Regions from separate parts of the Homo sapiens genome. Here region 1 is linked to region 2. The links are contacts of gene promoters, found by promoter capture Hi-C in blood cells and fetal thymus (Javierre and others, 2016). All regions are on one chromosome and are shown on one strand. The core of a region is centred on a gene start or on the middle of the fragment in contact, and the rest is flanking DNA. Distances in the headings are between cores, read along the strand shown. Region 1 overlaps VANGL1 (VANGL planar cell polarity protein 1). Region 2 holds the start of CD101-AS1 (CD101 antisense RNA 1).

Region 1 (3,390 bases), core at 228-2,727, 1.4 Mb before region 2:
GCTTGCCAAGCAGTACATTTTTATTGTCTTATGTATTAAGCAACAGGACAAAACCATAAAGGAAATTTAAAGTTTCTTTACCAAGCAACAATTCCATGTCACCCTTTGTTTGAAGGATAAATGTGTTGAATGAAGAAGGCATCCTCCCCTTCATCATCCCCTTAACACACTTATATACACACACTGTGCTTGCTACCCTAGGCCTTATCAGCTATTTTGGTGGGATGGGCCCTTGTCACATTGTGTTTTAATTGGAGGTCTCCACATTGGGGCTGTGAGCTCATTGGGAGTTAGAACTATTTTAGATCCATTTCTTTTCTCCTGAGTGCCCCACGATGCTTGGAACACTGAACCTGTGAGTAGAAGTTGAAATTGCAAAATTCTTAGTGGGGTTATATGTGGTTTGGGACAATTTGTGATTGTTGCTTATACTCCTCTATATAAACAAACAATTCTAGTAATTGCTACAGTGCTGTCAATTTTCTGTAGCTAAGAACACAGGTTCTGGAGTTAGACTCTCAACGTTTAAGCCCTGGCTCCTGTGGCAGTCTGGTTTCCCTAACTAACATGATATTAATGTCTTATTTTTCTTAAACACTTGTTATGCGGATTAAGTGAGATATTACATGTAAGTGACTTAAAACAGCATCTAACACATAGTAAACACTTGACAACTAGAAACTGTTAGACTATTACCATCATCTCTGTAAAATCAGCTAGCTGGTTAGGGTCTCGCTGTATAGGGCATGTGATTTGGGCATCATGCTATTCTATTTTCCTTAAGATGGAAAAGATTAGGTGGGCTTGTGATTGGACCATGTTTCTGTTAGCAATATTGGTTTGGTGTTAGCAGTATTGGTTTGATGTTAGCAGTATTGAAGTTTGATGCAAGGATACATGTGTGTGCTGTTGTCTCTAGCAGTGTCCTTCTGAATCCCAGTTACAGGACAACAGTGATCAGACTCTGTACCATCAGATTTACAGAGGAGATAGTACTCATGAGATCTATTTTTCTGAAGTTTAAATATCTGGCAGGGAACAAGGGAGTCACTTGCAAGCAAATATACATCACATAACTCCAGACATGTTAACGATTCACACCTCTTCAGAAATCTGTACCCAGCTGCTGGAGGTGTTTCAGGGGTAATTAATGACTGGAGCCAAGAGAAGTTATTCTGGCAAGGTGAGTTGAAATCATTGGCGAAACAAGTAAAACAAAGTTGACATTTTCTTTCCTTGTAAATAATGACCCAGAATCATTCATTTATAAGCTGTTGTAATAAAAGAATCATTGGGTTTGTCACAAATGCCATAAGCCCAGCAGATCCTCACATCAGTGACCTGCATGATGTTTGGTGGTTTATAGGCCACAAGTTCAAAATGTTTTATAGATTTGCCCTGCATCTCTGCCCGCTCCTTTCCAGCCCATGCCCCTCCAAATAAACCCACTAAAACACACACGGTTTCCTCTGGTCTCTCTGACATTTGCTTCCAACCTGGGGATGGTAAATAGAGGCCTGTAAGAAACAGAATAGAAATCACTTGTTACTCAGCTATAGCTAATAGTAGCAGTTAAAGGTGGTAGCAGAGACCAGAAAAATGTGTATAAGTTCAGTGAAAATGATACAGAAGTTATATGCCATACAACCCCTTCAGTTCTTCCTAACTGAAGGAATTTTACTCTAGTGAATACTAGTAGTAGTTGACAGCTGTGAGTGCCTACCACGTGCTAGGCACTGTTCTAATAATTTTTATGAATTATCTCATTTAATACCTACCACAGATCTATAATATAAGTAAAATAAAATCTGTTGTTACAGTTAGGGAAACTGAGGCAGAGAGCAGTTAAGTAACTTGTTCTGAGGTCACACAGCTAAGTACTAGAGCCAGGATTTGAATGCTCTTCACCCACAATTTGGGCTCATTGCTACTCTCTAGAAGAATAGTTGACTCTAAACAAAATTATTTCAATTGTCACTTTCCCCTTGAGTGCCATTTAATTAAGAATGGGTACCCCTAAGAAGAATGTTAGCTTCAAGACATAATATAAATAATAATTAATAGCATAATCTCTGCAGAATTCTATGTAAAAATCAAATATTCAGAATAATATACACAGCATATATAAGCATGGTTGTACCAGACACCACTTTTCCTTGGAAATAGATCTACTTACTGCATAGGAAGCAAAATCTCTCTTTAAATTCAGTGCGTGTCTCTGTAACCCTTACAAAGTAACTTTCCAAACCAGAGCTCCCTTAATTACTTAATAGCTCTAGGCAGAGCTGTTGATGTTTTTATAATTTCCTTTTTGCGAAGGTTAGCTTATGTTTACCACTGTCATTATCATAACATATTATTTCCTTCATACGATTTGCTAAACACTGTGTTTTCATATTAAGTAGTAGGATTTTTATATGAGTGAACATGACTTTAGGAGAGAATTCTGTTTGAGGCTGATTATCTTCATTTTGCTTTTGATAAAGGGTGGTGAAGGAGGTTCTTTCTGACATTTTTGCCTAGGAAGTCCAGAATTTAGGACACTGCCACTTAGAAGCACTCTGTGCACCTATCTCCCATTGTTGACCTTGCCTGCATGCAATGTGGTTCAATGAGCCTGGCCGTGTCCTAATATTTGCCTCCAGCCCCTACCCAAGCAGTGCCAAGCAATACACTCTTAAGGGGTGGGTGACCGGTGAGGCAAGATGCTCTTGGGCAGTGGCTGAAAGAGGCTGCTGCTGATTTTTACTCAGTGTGTCTGGCATACGAACTCTGCCCCTGAGTGGGACTGCCATGCGAGCCAGTAGTATAGCTTTTTTTTTTTTTTTTTTGATAGTTCTGGTATCACGCCTCTATCTAATATCTGCATCTTTTTTTTTGCCACCTCTAAAACTAAGGATTTAAAATAGATAATTTCTAAAGTTTCTTCCACAATGAATCTATGGCCTCATGTCCTAAGATCTGCCACAAAACCCTTCATTCAGCAGACATTTATAGGGTACCCATAATGTCCTAGGAGCTGGAAAGACAGGCAGTCATGAAAGTGCCTCTGCCCTCATGGAGCTTACAGCCTGTGAAGAAACTAGACAATAAGTGATCACACAAACAAATGTATCACTGGAAGTTGGATAGAAAGGAAGAGTACAGGGTACTAGAGAAGAGCCTGACTGAGATTGAAGGATCAGGAAAGGCCTCTTGAAAGGAGCAGTATTTAAATTAAGGAGTGATGAGTAGGAATTTGGCAAAACAGGGCATGTAAAGGGTGAGTACCAACAGATATACTGGGCTCTGCCAAAGCCCTAAGACTCTACCTTAAAGGAGCTGGGGCTAGAGAAGGAGGAGGGAGCTAGAGCGTCGGGCAGGACATTGCATACCAAATGAAAGATTTTT
Region 2 (3,792 bases), core at 935-3,434:
TGTTGCCCAGGCTGGTCCCAAACTCCTGGATTCAAGTGATCCACCCACCTCAGCCTCCCAAACTGCTGGGATTACAGGCATGAGCCACCTTGTCTGGCCTACCCTGGATTTTATTCAATATTTCACAGGTCAAAGAACCAGTCTGCTTCTGTAACCGAAGGGTTTCTACTACCACTTTATTTCTTCACCCATTAGGATGTTTCCTTAAGGATGTCAACATATCTAGATGACCAATTTTAGTTATTACTTTCAATGCAGCAGATAGGTATTTTGGCATTGCTTAGTTTTTAAAACAGCCTTATTAAGGTATAATTTAGATGTCATAGAATTCACCTATTTAAAGTGTACAATTCAAAGAGTCTAGTAAATTTAATCAATTGTGCACCCATTACCACAATCCAGTTTTAGAACAATTCCAACATATACTTTGCATTTGACCAGCTCCATACTGAACAAATTTATTGGATAATTAACCTGTGCATTTTAAGCCATCTAAATCTAGGACCCAGCCTAGACATTATTTTGAATAAATCAAGCTTTAAGGAAAAACAAACTCTAAACTTTACTCAAAATAGAGATCCATAAAGCACATTCTCCCAAGGTCTCTCCGGGGGTCTGTAGGCTAATTAACAATATAAATTTAAAATATAAATTAAGAATAAAAATTAATACACATACACCAATACATGTGTATATTTTGAAAAGTGTATGTTGTATAATTCATTATTATTTATTTCAATAGGCATAAGTTTTTTTTTAAGAGACAAAGTTTCACTCTGTCACCAAGGCTAGAGTGCAGTGGCACAATCACAGCTCACTGTAGCCTCAAACTTGTGGGCTCAAGCCATCCTCCCACCTCAGCCTCCTGAGTAGCTAGGACCGCAGGTGCCCACCACCATACTCAACGGGCATAAAAATTAATTTTAAAAATGTTTCCAGTTATGACCATCTTTCGTCCAATCTCAAACTTATTTTTTTCAATCTTGTAAATATGATGAGGTGGAATAAGTTGTCCAGGGACTTAACATTTTGATCTAGTATATTTTTAATTTATGGAAGAAATATTCCTCCTGTCTGTGATTTGGCTGTGCACACTTTTGTGAGGTTGGACTGGAGATACCGACTTGGGTACTTGCAGAGGAGGAGCTTCTTCCTTAACGGGATATTTAAGAGGCCCCGATTTTGCCTTGTTTCGAAAATTATTCAAGAAATAATTAATTACCATGCCCCTCTTTCTGCAAATCCTGTATTCATGGTATACTACCTCCAATACAGCATCTATTAAACATGTACAAATACATCATTTGCAAGAATAACAATCTTGGAATAATGAAAATGCTTCTACCTATTTGTTGTTCCTGTCTTATCTCTAAGTTCATCTAAGTTTCGGAAGGGTAGTTATGTATAAAGGAACTTCACTTTGGAAATTCCATTTTTCTCTAGTCCTAGAGAGTTACTGCTAACTCCATTCATTTTGACATTTAAATACTATTTTATATTGTTATTTAAGTGTTCAACATGTACTAGTTCAGTCTCCTCAAAATACTGAGTAAGTTCCTTGTGCTTAGAATAGTTGTTTCAAACTTTGTGTGTGTGAATGAATGAATTTTACATTTCTCAAGCACCTAGTCCACAACGGGCACAAAAAAGCTATTTAGTAAGTACTGTTTAATTAATAAATGATACCTCAGGTTTGTCTCCCTTCCTCCGGATCCCCATAACATGTACATTTATCACATCGCCCAGATTTCCTAGACATTACAGATTTTCTGTTCTACGGCCCCCATAAGAACAGTGCAGGTGCCACACCATATGTCTGGGACATATGGTCCTCAATAGCTGCAATATGAAACTATTTCTATTGCAATAAATCTAATATCTATTCCTCTCTGTTTACTAATAGTTTTGATTACAACTTCAAATTTTAAAAATCGAGGATGAAGTTAAATAGAAGGGAACTGTCCCCTTTCTTCTATTTAACCTCGTCTTCGATTTTTAAAATTACAAAAGCATAATAGTAAAAAAAAGTTTGACAATACAAAATGATAAAGTAAAATTCGCCTTCACCAAAAGTCATCTATTTCCCCTTCTGTGGTTTCCACGTTGCGGCTGGTAACTCGGGGCTTCCACGCTGGGCGAGCCTAGAGAACATCCAGTACACACAGGAAGCAGCAGCGCGGGCCAAATGGCGCTGAGACCTGCGCACCTGTCCACGGACCGCCCACTCGCCAACTCTGACCTTGGGTGAGTCTCTCAAACTTGAGTCTCGGAATCTTCCACAAAATGCTACCCATCTCACCAGGTCGAGTGAGGAGGGTCGTGTTATGTGTAAGCACTTTGTGAAATCTAAAGCACGAGGCAAACGTAAAGCATTGTAGGGGGTCCTAGAGAAGTCTTTGTGCCTGCCTATCAGAGCCGTTTCAGTTCCCCGCAGCAGCTTCCAAGGACCTCCCACCATGCCCGCCGCTTCGGCTCCTGCACTGCAAATCTCGCGGCTCGGCCTGCAGCGGCGGCTTCCCCTGGCCTCCCACCCCAGCGACTGAGCGCGGAGCCCAGCGCGCACGAGCGCCAGCCTGGCTCAGAGACACCCACGAAGCCAGGGCCTTTCAGCGCCTGCTAACTGGCGCTACCCCTAGGGCCGCCTCTCGGTTTTAAACGTAAACAAGAGTTGCCCTTCCGTCTTCCAAGACCTGCAAATCGAAGCTTCTTTTCCTCCAGAAGCCCCGCCACCTTCTAAGCTTCTCCCCAGCCTCAGCCACGCCCCAGCCTGCAAAAGCCGGGTCCTTTACGCCCCCTGGCTCCGTATTTGATTTCGGCGCGCGCCATACCTGAGGGCAGCTGTGATTGGTTGGAGGTGAGCGAAGTTCCTATATGATTGGCTGATAGCGGCTAGGACGGGTGAAGGCCAAGGGCGGAGAATTATGGGAGGGATTAAGACTGCAAGAGCTGAGTGATGGTTGGTTCCTGAACAAAGAGGGCGGAGTAAAAGGCGGAAGCAGAATTGGGGGCGGGGCTTTGTGGAACTTGGGGGACCCAGCGAAATGGAAGAAGTTAGGTGTCCAGAGCACGGTAAGGGGCTAGGGTCTCAGCGTCCCGGGGCCTGTTGATTTAGCGTGGCGTAATCGTTGTTCACTTTCTTCTCTCTTCAGGGACTTTCTGCTTTCTTAAGACCGGCGTCCGCGATGGCCCGAATAAAGGAAAGAGCTTCTACGTGTGCCGGGCAGACACGTGCAGCTTCGTGCGGGCCACCGAGTAGGTCTGGAGCTGGGCCCCACTCCCTGTGGCTGCCCGGGGCCTCCCGAGAGGAGCTTCCCGCTCCCCGCTGTCGGGCGTCACAGGGCCGAGGAGTGGTGGGGCCCTAGTTTGCGGTGTCAGGACCCTTTAAGCAATTGGTGATCCCAGGGCAGCGTGGCGTGTTCGGAAGACGCCCAGCTAATTCTGGCTGTGTGACCCGAGGCTGGTTACCCCCCTCTCTGGGCCGATGGTTCCCCTACCTGTAAAATTGAGGATCCGGTGTTTTCCAGCTCTGGGTTTCTATTCACTTGACAGGCCTTAACCACTCCCTTCTCCTGCCCAGACAGTCCCTCCCCCTTTAAAGGAGTAAGGACACACAGCAGACATAGTGGAAAATAATTTGTCCCTGTTTTGCACTAGTTTTAGGCCCGACGGTTTTTTTTAAATGTTTGAGCTTAAAACACTCTAGTGATTAGTTGTTAGCCTTCTTATTTTTAAGTAGGATTCTCTGCATCTAAATGGTGAAATTGATAATTCAAAGAAATTAGCGCTGGAAGA

What was found. Contacts are between HindIII fragments. The CHiCAGO score rates a contact against its expected background, and 5 or more counts as called.
Region 1: a fragment that was not itself captured here is called in contact with the fragment with the promoter of CD101-AS1 in region 2 in 1 of 17 cell types (fetal thymus); the score reaches 7.5 in fetal thymus.

Annotation. Positions count from the first base shown.
Region 1 is chr1:115,643,681-115,647,070 of GRCh38, forward strand. The region is part of intron 1 of VANGL1 (VANGL planar cell polarity protein 1); the gene reads left to right. Among named protein-coding and RNA genes, the nearest start is that of VANGL1, 3.4 kb to the left of the region's middle. The HindIII fragment of the contact is 4,549 bases long and covers 1-3,390 here.
Region 2 is chr1:117,057,306-117,061,097 of GRCh38, forward strand. It overlaps CD101-AS1 (CD101 antisense RNA 1), which reads right to left and starts at 2,185. Exons shown (of 4, transcript NR_110786.1): 1 at 2,068-2,185. It overlaps TTF2 (transcription termination factor 2), which reads left to right and starts at 3,021. Exons shown (of 23, transcript NM_003594.4): 1 at 3,021-3,069; 2 at 3,150-3,252. The coding sequence starts at 3,042. RefSeq lists a silencer at 2,092-2,141 and an enhancer at 2,562-2,721. The HindIII fragment of the contact is 2,167 bases long and covers 535-2,701 here.